Linked DNA regions of Homo sapiens: region 1 is linked to region 2. The links are contacts of gene promoters, found by promoter capture Hi-C in blood cells and fetal thymus (Javierre and others, 2016). All regions are on one chromosome and are shown on one strand. Each heading gives the region's core, a stretch centred on a gene start or on the middle of the fragment in contact. The rest is flanking DNA. Distances are from core to core; before and after follow the strand shown.

Region 1 (6,160 bases), core at 684-3,183, 230 kb before region 2:
ATTTACACAGTAAATGTCACTCTTTTCAGTATACAGTTTTATGGGTTTTGATAAATGTGTATATATTCACATAATCATCACCACAATGAAGATATAGAACAGTTTCACAACCCCCAAAACACTGCCTTCTGCTACCCTTTTGTAGTCAAACTTTCCTGCGGCCCTTAAGCTCTGACAACCACAGATTCGTCCTCCCTAAATTATGCCTTTTCCAGAATTCGTGTACTTTTTGATAGCACCCCTTTACTCTCCAAATAATAAAGTCAGGCACGGTGGGTGAGCAGGGCTCTGCAGACCCATCTGGCCTGAATCCAGTTTTATCAGATTTATATTCTGGCACTCAAATCAGATATTTCATTTGAAAAAAGTGGTCCAGGTGAAAATACTCTGTATGATACTAAAATGGAGAATCCATGCCATTTGCATGTCATTACACATTTGTTCAAACCCACAGAATGCACGACACCCAGGGTGAACCTTAATGTAAACTATGGGCTATGGATGATGATGCAGGTTCAACCAATGATGCAGGATCAACCAATGCAGGTTGATCACTGTAACAAATGGGCCACTGTGCTGGGGGATGCTGATAATGGAGGTTATGAATGTGCGGAAGCAGGAGGTATATGGGAAATCTGTGAACTCTCCGATCATATCTGCTGTGAATCCAAAAACTTCACTAAAAAAACTCAAGTCTTTTACTATTATTCTAAGTGAAATAATTCAGGAATGGAAAACCAAACATCGTATGTTCTCACTGATATGTGGGAGCTAAGCTATGAGGACACAAAGGCATAAGAATGATACAATGGACTTTGGAGACTTGGGGGGAAGAGTGGCGGGAGGAGGGATAAAAGACTACAAATGTGGAGCAGTGTATACTGCTCGGGTGATGGGTGCACCAGGATCTCAAAAATCACCACTAAATAACTTACTCGTGCAACCAAATACCACCTGTACCCCAACGCCTTATGGAAAAATAATTTTTAAAAAATCAAGTCTTTTAAAAAACTAAAAAAATTTTAAGAAGAGGTCTTCCACCAAAAATGCCCGCCATCACCTCCCCAGCATGTCCAAGAGGGCTGTACTCACGCTCTGCGATCTGCAGCACTGGGTATCCCAGATAGAAACTGAACTCCACCACACTCAAGTTTCTGAGCAGCTCGCTCACTTCCGACCCATTCAAAAATCCCTGTGTGCTTTTAACCGCAAAGATGATATTCACCGGGCCCCGCCGAGGAGTCACCCTTGAGGAACTGATGGTGATATTCAAGATCTGAAAGAATAAAGTCAGAATAAGCTTCTATAATAAAACATTCTGCTGAAAGCTTAACCATGATTTCTCTCTCACAGGTCCTCTCACCGATTTTTTTAAAGGAGGTAAAGTTTTTAAAGGAAACGTAACTGGCTTTCTAACCTGGTTCCCTTTTGTAAGAGTTTAACTGCTCAGTTTATGGAAAATGTTTCTTACATTAAGTGATGAACTGAGCACATGTACAGCTCCTCCCACCCCAAATGCCACTGAAATAACAATAAGCTGAACACAGGGGAATAAATCCACAACAGCACTGAGAATGGAAGAAAACTAGAGATTCCGTCAAACCTCTGGGGGATGAAGAAAGGATGGGATTGGATTGATATAAACCAGAACAGAGAAAGCCAGAATCCAAAACATACACAAGCATGGGCTGCAGCAGAGCCAAGGGCCACGCTCTCCAAGAGGACCAGGAGGGGCTCTGTGGCAGAGATCAGCAGGAATGAGACCAAGAGCAGGCTACACAGTGGTAATCAGTATAATTAATTACAAGGCTGTGCCAAAGAGCTGAGTGTATTGCCTTCCTCCTCCGTCCTTCCTAACTGCCACACCCAGGCCAACAGAGGTGCTAGCAGCAGCCAGGCCCTCACCCAGAACAAGACTGCCTCCTGAGGAAAACAAACTCCTGCCTAAGAGGACTATGGTGGGTCTGGGCCCTAACCAAGAAGGTGGGCAGAGGCTAAGATAACTCCTGTGCACACCGAAGAAGGAAAGAAAATGAATGAAAACGCAGCTAGCTCTGCCCTGAGACACACACTAAAGTGCCCCATCCCCTAGGAAGAACCTCTTTATCTAGATGCTGGAAGGAGGGTGTTCCCTGTCTGCTTGTCTCTGACCACACACTGCACCCAGAGAGAAGCCCACGCTGACATATTCTGCCCCAGACCCAGCGCTCCGACGAATTTTCCCACCAGGAGATGGAGCTGACGTAGAAAGAGATCCCCACAGCTCAAGGGGAAAGCTGTGCCAGCTACTAAAATGAACAACTTGGTTCTTCATTCCTAACAACAAACCAACAGTCTCCAGATTTACAGAAACTAACAGCACGAAAGCAAAGCACCGAGATCAACATGCAGAGCAAGGACTGCAGAGAAAACAGGAATGACTTAGGAAACAGAAGACGCATTTTAACAATTCTAATTAACGTCCTCAGAGACTTTTAAGGTGACACTGCATCATCGCAGGAAAGCCTACAATGAAAATGGAGCAAAGAACAATGAACAAAAAGCTTAAAAATTCAGTAGAGGGATTGCATAACATAATGGACACAGCTAAGGACTAAATTCATGACTTGGAGGACGACATTTAGTAAATCTGTAAAAACAGAGAATAAAGAGATGGAAAATATGAGGAAAAAATAAGAAACATGGAAAGTGGATCCAGGAGCACCAAAATCTATTTTAACATCCATTTTGGAAAGAGAGAGGAAAGAATGTAGAGGGAAAAAAATCAAAGAAACATAAAAACATCAGCAGTTTCCATATGATACGTACAACACCCGTTCTTAGTAGCTATATGGAAACAACAGTATGGGTAGGCATTCCCCCATTGGATATTTAGGTTGATACCATTCCTTTCTAGGTAATTCTTGAATTTCCTGAATATGGTCATGTTTCTTCAGCTCACCATATCTGAGCTCCCTGGGTATCAGCTACTCTGCAACCCTCAAAGATGCTCAGCCTGTGCACGCTATGCCGACCTTACGCCACAGGAATAGATCAATCCCGACTCACATAAACTGGGTTTCCGCCACTGGAGGGAATAAGAGTTAAGCACATCTTAAACAATGTGGAACAATTTCCCCTTCAAGGGCTAAAGCCTTCTGCTCTGCATTCAGTGATATTCTCACCTGCACCGTGAGGTTATACGTTCCCTGGTGGTGTTTTCTCACTTCAAAGAGAGCTGTCATTAGGCCTTTCTCAATGCGCTGGGTGAAGTTGCAGAAGCCAGTATCCACACTCGGAGGCACAAACTGAAGTACTGAAAAGAAAAGCAATCAAAGTCCCATAAATGAGGTGTTTGTGCTTCTGAAGTATTAAGGAATCAAGAGAGAGAAACATCGTATCTAAATCAACCAATTCATCCATAGTATGGGATTAAGTACTGTGATGTAACATTTCTACGTATTTTCTCACGGAAATGTAAAAGGTAACTTTGCAGTAAATGAAGACATGCAATGTGACGGTGACTGGTATCATTTTAAAATGAAAAATATCTAAGATAAGAATTTGAGTATCAAAAGACACAATGGATGGAAACATTTCAAACATATATAAATTCATTGTAGATGAATTCTTGAATATTTATGGGTGAAATGACATGATACCTGGCATTGCTTGAAAACACTCTAGTGTCCACAAAAACGTTCACAGGGGATAGATGAAACAAAATTGGTGATGTTGATAAATTTTTTTTAAGCTTAACCATGGGTATATGTAGACTTAGTACTCTCTCTACTTTTGTAAATGTTTGAACATGTCCACAATGAAAAGTTAAATATGATATTTAGAAATTACTGTTAACAGCCAGGTACAGCGGCTCACGCCTGTAATTCCAGCACTTTGGGAGGCTGAGGCGGGCAGATCATTTGAGATCAGGAGTTCGAAACCAGCCTGGCCAACATGGTGAAACCCCATCTCTACTAAAAATACAAAAATTAGCCGGACATGGTGGTGGGTGCTTGTAATCCCAGCCACTCAGGAGGCTCAGGCAAGAGAATTGCCTGAGCCCGGGAGGCAAAGGTTGCAGTGAGCAGAGATCGCGCCATTGCACTCTAGCCTGAGCAACAAAGCAAGACTCCAGCTCCAAAAAAAAGAAAAGAAAAGAAATCACTGTTAACTTCATATACATGTTTAAAGTCTTTATCTTTTAGAGGCTATATAGGCTGAAATATGTGTGGGCGAGATGATACGATGCCTGAGATTTACTTTAAAATAGTACAAGAGGAGGGGAAGTAGATAGTAGATGGGGGTGTGGCTATAACAAGACTGGCTAGGAACGGAAAAGTGGTTGAAGACATATGAGTACACAGTGGTCTGTTAAACTATTCTACGTACTTTTGTACATGCTTGAAATTTCCCATAATTATAAACACTTTTAAAAGTTAAATAATAAGGTCAGGTGTGGTAGCTCACACCCGTAATCCCAGCACTTTGGGAGGCCAAGACAGGAGGATCGCTTGAGCCCAGGAGTTCAACACCAGTCTGGGCAACTTAGGAAGACCCCATCTCTACAAAACATAATGTTTCTTAAATTCTTTTTTTTTTTTTTTTTTGAGATAGGGTCTCACTCTGTTGTCCAAGCTGGAGTGCAGTGGCACGATCTCGTCTCACTGCAGTCTCCACCTCCTGGGTTCAAGTGATTCTCCTGCCCCAGCCACCCAAGTCACTGGGATTACAGGCGTATGCCACCATATCTGGCTAATTTTTGTATTTTTAGTAGAGATGAGGTTTCGCCATGTTGCCCAGGCTCATCTCAAACTCCAGAGCTCAAGTGATCTGCTCGCCTCAGCCTCTCAAAGTGCTGAGATTACAGGCATGAGCCATCGCACTTGGTCTAATTTTTTTTTTTTTTTTTTTTGTAGAGACAGGGTTTCATCATGCTGCCCTGGCTGGTCTCAAACTCATGAACTCAAGTGATCCATCTGCCTCAGCCTCCCAACCTCCTCTGCCTCAGCTCCCACCTGGTGGGACTACAGGTGTGAGCCACCATACCTGGCCTAAAAAAAAATTAAAAAAAAAATTAGCCACGCATGGTGGTATACACTTTTAGTCCTAACTACTCAGGAGGCTGAGGCAGGAGGATTGTTCGAGCTCAGGGGTTCAAGGCTACAGTGAGCTATAATCACACCACTGCATTCCAGCCTGGGCAACAGACTGAGATCCTGTCTCTAAAAATCATCATCATAATAATAAATTCTAAAAATGATTTCCAATATTTTAGAAAGATAAAAAAAAAATGAAATTCTTTTTACAAATAAAAACAACTATGCTGAGCTGTCTCACCTGTTTGAACTTGGAACCTGGACTCTGGCACAAGGAAAGAAGGTTTCACAGACAGGATTAAAGGAGTCTGGTCACGGACAAGCTTACTGTTTATAAGCACATTTATGACGGATATTGCCGTGTAAACGAAAGGACCGGATGTTACCAGAAAAGTGAAGTCAGTAAATAGTTCGTAAACCTAGGGAAATAAGAAATACAAAGACAATTCAAACTTAAAGGAAGTTGTGTTACACAGAAAAATAAAAAATTATAAACTAAAAAAACTGGTAGTTTTGAATGAAGGGGTAGTGCATCACGGATAATCAAAATTTTATTTTAGTTACTGCTTTTACTCTCTGCCAACCTTTGCAAAAACAACACAAAATTATAAGAGCAGCAAGAAAGAACAGTCAGAAATATGAACTGAATAATGAGTTATAGGGCATTCAAGCTGTTTGTTGTATTTAAAACACATAGACAAGAGTACTTATCCTATTGAGCAGCACTGTCCAAAATAAATATGCAATTTAAAAATTTCTAGTGGCCACATTAAAAAACATAAGAACAGGTGAAATTAATTTTAAATACATTTTATTTAATATATCTAAAATATCATTTCAACATGAAGTCAATACAAAACACTATTAATGAGATATTCTACCCTCCTTTTTTCACTGCATTTTTCAAGTCTGGTATGTATTTTCCACCCACAGCCCATCTCCGTTTGGACGAGCCCCATTTCACTGCTGTATCGCCATGCGTGGGGCGCGGTTCTGGTTCCGGATGGCTCTGCTCTAGATGGACTGTGGCTTTCTAGGATCATTCAGTCTAAAAGATTTGGATCTCCATCTCTATCCTACCA
Region 2 (5,851 bases), core at 3,110-5,609:
GATGGTACTGGTACCAAAACGGAGATATAGACCAATGGAACAGAACAGAGCCCTCAGAAATAATACCACACATCTACAACCATCTGATCTTTGACAAACCTGACAAAAACAAGAAATGGGGAAAGGATTCCCTATTTAATGAATGGTGCTGGGAAAACTGGCTAGCCATATGTAGAAAGCTGAAACTGGATCCCTTCCTTACACCTTATACAAAAATTAATTCAAAATGGATTAAAGACTTAAATGTTAGACCTAAAACCATAAAAACCCTAGAAGAAAACCTAGGCAATACCATTCAGGACACAGGCATGGGCAAGGACTTCATGTCTAAAACACCAAAAGCAATGGCAACAAAAGCCAAAATTGACAAATGGGATCTAATTAAACTAAAGAGCTTCTACACAGCAAAAGAAACTACCATCAGAGTGAACAGGCAACCTATAGAATGGGAGAAAATTTTTGCAATCTACTCATCTGACAAAGGGCTAATATCCAGAATCTACAAAGAACTCAAACAAATTTACAAGAAAAAAACAAACAACCCCATCAAAAAGTGGGCGAACGATATGAACAGACACTTCTCAAAAGAAGACATTTATGCAGCCAACACACACATGAAAAAAATGCTCATCATCACTGGCCATCAGAGAAATGCAAATCAAAACCACAATGAGATACCATCTCACACCAGTTAGAATGGCAATCATTAAAAAGTCAGGAAACAACAGGTGCTGGAGAGGATGTGGAGAAATAGGAACACTTTTACACTGTTGGTGGGACTGTAAACTAGTTCAACCATTGTGGAAGACAGTGTGACGATTCCTCAAGGATCTAGAACTAGAAATACCATTTGACCCAGCCATCTCATTACTGGGTATGTACCCAAAGGATTATAAATCATGCTACTATAAAGACACATGCACACGTATGTTTATTGTGGCACTATTCACAATAGCAAAGACTTGGAACCAACCCAAATGTCCATCAATGATAGACTGGTTTAAGAAAATGTGGCACATATATACCATGGAATACAATGCAGCCATAAAAAAGGATGAGTTCATGTCCTTTGTAGGGACATGGATGAATCTGGAAACCAGCATTATCAGCAAACTATCGCAAGGACAAAAAACCAAACACTGCATGTTCTCACTCATAGGTGGGAACTGAACACTATGACACAGTGAGAACGCTATGACACAATGAGAACACTTGGACACAGGAAGGGGAACATCACACACTGGGGCCTGTCATGGGGTGGGGGGAGGGGGGAGGGATAGCATTAGGAGATATACCTAATGTAAATGATGAGTTAATGGGTGCAGCACACCAACATGGCGCATGTATATATATGTAACAAACCTGCACGTTGTGCACATGTACCCTAGAACTTAAAGTATAAAGAAAAAAAAAAAGATTAGACAGACAAGGCCCATTATAGAAATCTCTTAGAAGACTTTCATAAATGCTCAGGACTGTAGGCAGACACACAAAACTGCAAAGGCATTGCTTCAAGCCACTCCTCACTGTTTCTAAGAGTAGTTGACTGTAGTAAAATACAACAAGGTCAACAAAATCCAGATGAGTCAGTAATATCATATTTTGAGAGGTGTGAGTAAACTTAAACAATATTCGGGTTTATCTGAAGAAAGCTAAGCTAATAATCAAAATGATATTCTTCTCAACTCCAGTTTTATAAATAGGTTAGATGAAGAATTAGCACTAATAATGAAAAGACAAAACCCTCGCTGGGCCACTTCTCAAAATCATAATTTGGTCAGTCTTGCTGCCCAGTTGTCTCATAACTGAAGACAAATCTGAGAAGGAGGCCAAACAAAAGAGCAAGGCTAATAAAATTATGATTTTACAGTCGAAACAAATGTCCACACAATTTGGACCTTCAAGATATCCTTATAAATCCGCAAATAGACTTAACCATACACTTTCAATTAATGCAAAAAGCCTGATCACATTAAAACGAACTGCCAAAAACTAAAAAGGAAAGAACAACAGGTGGAGTCAGATAATAAAGAATGGGGGTGCTCCATGGAACTTAAAGGGGCCTTTCCTTTTCTCCTTACACTCTGAGAGAAAAGAAATTGTTTAAAACTCCCCTTACTGTTTTCATCCCTCATTCTGTGGAAGCATTGCTAAACTTGAACCACACTCAACGTTATTCAATGAGTAGACTAACTTCATAGAAAGTTTCACTTCTTTTAGCTTCTCATGTCACCATCTCTAGATGTAACAAGCTAAATATTGCAACTCTTCTTCCTTCACTTTCAGATGAAACACCACACAATTGCATAACTCTAACTGATAAACTTGTTTTCTCCTAGGACTGATCTGCAAGAGACTTTTCTTACTTAGGCTAATGTTGTTTGGTTTACAGACGCATGTTATTTAAAGGATGAATCTGGAACTTACTGTAAAGGTTTACGCAATAGTGTCTTTAACAGAAGAAATAGAAAGTGCTTACCTTCCAGAAGCCACTTAGATTCACTTCTGTCTTTGTACCACAACTGTGTATTGAAGATGTCATTTGCCATGTACAGGCCCTAACCAATTACACACAAAAGGCCCTAAATAACAGCCACATGAATGTCTCATTATTAAATAATGAAGTTACTGTCATGAGAAGACTGTATTACAAAACTGTATGGTCTTAGACATACTCACTGCAGCCCAAGGAGGAATCTGTGCTATGACAGAAACTGAATGCTGTGTTTATATCCCAGATGAATCAAATAACGTCACCAAATTAATAACTGATTTGAAAAACTCTAATAATTAACCTTTCGGATCCAAAACCCTCTCTAAGCTACTGGTTAAGTAATTGATTTGGATCTTGGGGAACTTGGTGGCAAAAGCTGTTATGTATTTTAGGAATTATCATAGTTTGTGTTTTGTCTTGCCTTTGTCTGCAGAGCTGTTATGGTATTTATCTGCAATTGGGTCAACACACAGCTGAGAAAATGTGTAGAACAAAGACTACTCAGAGAATTGTTTGATTGAAGAGGCAGCCGTGTAGCCTGAATCAGGTTCCAGAACTACTTTCTCTTGTTGCTTTATAATTCGGACTTGGTCCTTTCCAATTTCCCCTCCTCCCTGGGATGTGACTGCCAGGAAGGGGCCTTCCTAGTGACATGAGGTTTGATCAAATACACGGCCTGAGAATATAATTCTTCTATAATGCTTTCTCTGAAAGCTTTTGAAGAAAAGGGGAAAATGTGAAAAGAAAATTTCAGCACTTTCCAAACGTACTATGCCAAGGGGAAAAGTTAAGCCCTGTAAACTAAATCACAGAACATGGCTGTTTTTCTTCTCTGGTGCATGACTGTTGCTTCCTGATCTTTGTGTTGATGTTATATATTAACCAGATTTTTTATTCTTTATTCAGACTAAATGACGTTGGAGATAGAGACCCTTGTGATTGTTACCTCTTTACAATAGAATATTAAACAACCCCCTTACAGTGTAATCAATAGTAGTGAATTGAATCTTCTGTGTACGTTAGCCTCATCTAGAAAATGCTGTAATTACGTACAGCACTCCTGTTTTTGGTGATATAAATGACCCTCACCTTTCCCTGCATCAGGGAGCACTGATCACCATTCTTTGCTGTCAGTGGTTCCCGGGATAGCCGCCCTCACACTTTGCACTTGAATAAACTCTTTCAACTGGATCCCTGAGCTTTTTGGTTATTTTAGGCTGACATTAGTTAACTAACAAGATGTTAGTTCTTCAGTCTGTTAATTCTGAGGGGTTGACCAGAGGTCCTGTAAGGTCCCTTCCAACTCTAACATTCCACGATTTCGTGAATTTAAAGACTGTGGTTGCCCCTGTATTAACTGGGTTCAGGAGTAAGATAGATAAATTAAGTCATCCAATCGACAAATATTTATTACAGTTCTCTATTGTGTGTAGGTGTATCTGTGGAAATAGGAAACTGTATTTTGGTGCACTCCTGCTTCCAAATCACAGAACTACAACTCCTTCAGCAGAAATTTTCTAAGCTTCCCGCACCAGCCAGAGACCAAGATTCTGCGGTGCACATAGTCAAGGGTTGCTATGGAGTCCAACACGGCCCCAAACAGAAGTGGTCCCTGAAAATTTCTTTCCCAGAAAACTTGCATTTGAAAAACAATGCCATTCCAATTCGCCTTTTCCTAAAGTAAACTCATAAATAGAGACAACCAAACTTTCGCTCTCAGCCCAGAGAACGACGCTCTCCTCCCAAGAGGAACCTCGGCTCTTCCGCGGCAGAAGCTGCACGGAACCAAGAAGCCGCGGGCGCTGGTTCTCCAACGAGCTTTTCTCCCGTTCGTACCAGCGTCCAGGCGGGGTTACCGTGGAGACAGAACGTGCTGTGTGGATGCGGCGAAACGCTGAGGCGCGGCCTTCGCTGTGTGGTGGGGACTCACAAGACCGACGTCAAGATGGTTAGTGGCTCTGAATAGTAAGGGAGTACTTTGAGTAGGTCCTGAGGCTGGCGATTAGAGGTTCCCAGCACACTTCTGTGTGAAGTCTAGGTGTGTCCGCAGAGAGTAATCCCCAGCTCTCCCTGTGTTCCCACGGGGGACAGGGATGCAACTGTAAATACCTCGGTGCTTTCTTCCCTCCTGCTTTTCCGTTTACTCACATTTAAACCACTCGTGGGATGGGAAGCAGAGGAAGGGAAAGCTGAGATGACAGAAGCAATGCGAAAGCATCTCTAGCCAGAGAAGATAAAAGTTGGGAGTAGCTGTTTGGTCCTTCCTAAGTATTGGCTGATGGCTCTTCTAGTAGAATACCTGTTACAAAACGAGTTTGAATAGGCTTCCCTGGGGTTCGTTGTTAAGGATTTGACTTATAATTTTTTTTTTTTTTTTGAGATGGAGGCTCGCTTTGTCGCCCAGGTTGGAGTGCAGTGGCGCGATCTTGGCTCACTGCAACCTCTGCCTCTAGGTTCAAGCGTTTCTTCTGCCTCAGCCTCCCGAGTAGCTGGGACTACAGGCGCATGCCACCACGCCCGGCTAATTTTTGTATTTTTAGTAGAGATGCGGTGTCACCATATTGACCAGGCTGGTCTCCAACTCCTGACCTCGTGATCCGCCGCCTTCGCCTCTCAAAGTGCTGGGATTACAGGCATGAGCCACTGTGCCCGGCCTTGACTTATAAATTACAGAGCTGTCACTCTCAGTTTAAATCTGATAATCAGAATTGGACCATACAGCTGTCTTTGTTTCTTTTACAGATGCTTTCAAGGGCCAAACCTGCTGTAGGCAGAGGCGTACAGCACACTGACAAAAGAAAGAAGAAAGGTAGGAAGATTCCAAAACTAGAGGAGCTACTTTCAAAAAGAGATTTCACTGGAGCTATTACCCTGTTGGAGGTAATGCCCAAAGAACGTTGCTTCTTAGTGTATGAATACCAGACTGTAGATGAATGCTTGGGTGAATGCTGTTTGCTATGCTCTTGAAATAGGTGGGTGCATTCTGGGGCTTCCTGTACAAATCCCCTGTAAATCTAGTCAGGCACAGATTCCAGATTCCAAGTTAGCTATAAACCTGATAAAAAACGAACTAAAAAACTAAACTTGGCCGGGCGCGGTGGCTCATGCCTGTAATTCCAGCACTTCGGGAGGCCGAGACGGGCAGATCACAAGGTCAAGAGATCGAGACCATCCTGGCCAACATGGTGAAACCCCGTCTCTATTGAAAATACAAAAATTAGCTGGGCATGGTGGCACGTGTCTGTAGTCCCAGCTACTCGGGAGGCTGAGGCTGGAGAATCGCTTGAACCCGGGAGGCGGAGGTTGCAGTGAGCCAAGATCATGCCACTGCACTCCAGCCTGGCTACAAGGCGAGAC

What was found. Contacts are between HindIII fragments. The CHiCAGO score rates a contact against its expected background, and 5 or more counts as called.
Region 1: a contact is called between a fragment that was not itself captured here and the fragment with the promoter of IFT56 in region 2, in 1 of 17 cell types (naive CD4 T cells). The highest score is 5.4, in naive CD4 T cells.

What each region holds. Positions count from the first base shown.
Region 1 is chr7:138,905,827-138,911,986 of GRCh38, forward strand. It overlaps KIAA1549, which reads right to left. Exons shown (of 20, transcript NM_001164665.2): 4 at 5,320-5,497; 5 at 3,165-3,295; 6 at 1,093-1,276. Among named protein-coding and RNA genes, the nearest start is that of KIAA1549, 72 kb to the right of the region's middle. The HindIII fragment of the contact is 1,215 bases long and covers 1,327-2,541 here.
Region 2 is chr7:139,129,419-139,135,269 of GRCh38, forward strand. IFT56 (intraflagellar transport 56) reads left to right here and starts at 4,360. Exons shown (of 18, transcript NM_024926.4): 1 at 4,360-4,442; 2 at 5,237-5,374. The coding sequence starts at 4,440. RefSeq lists enhancers at 4,185-4,479, 4,197-4,376. The HindIII fragment of the contact is 9,761 bases long and covers 4,015-5,851 here.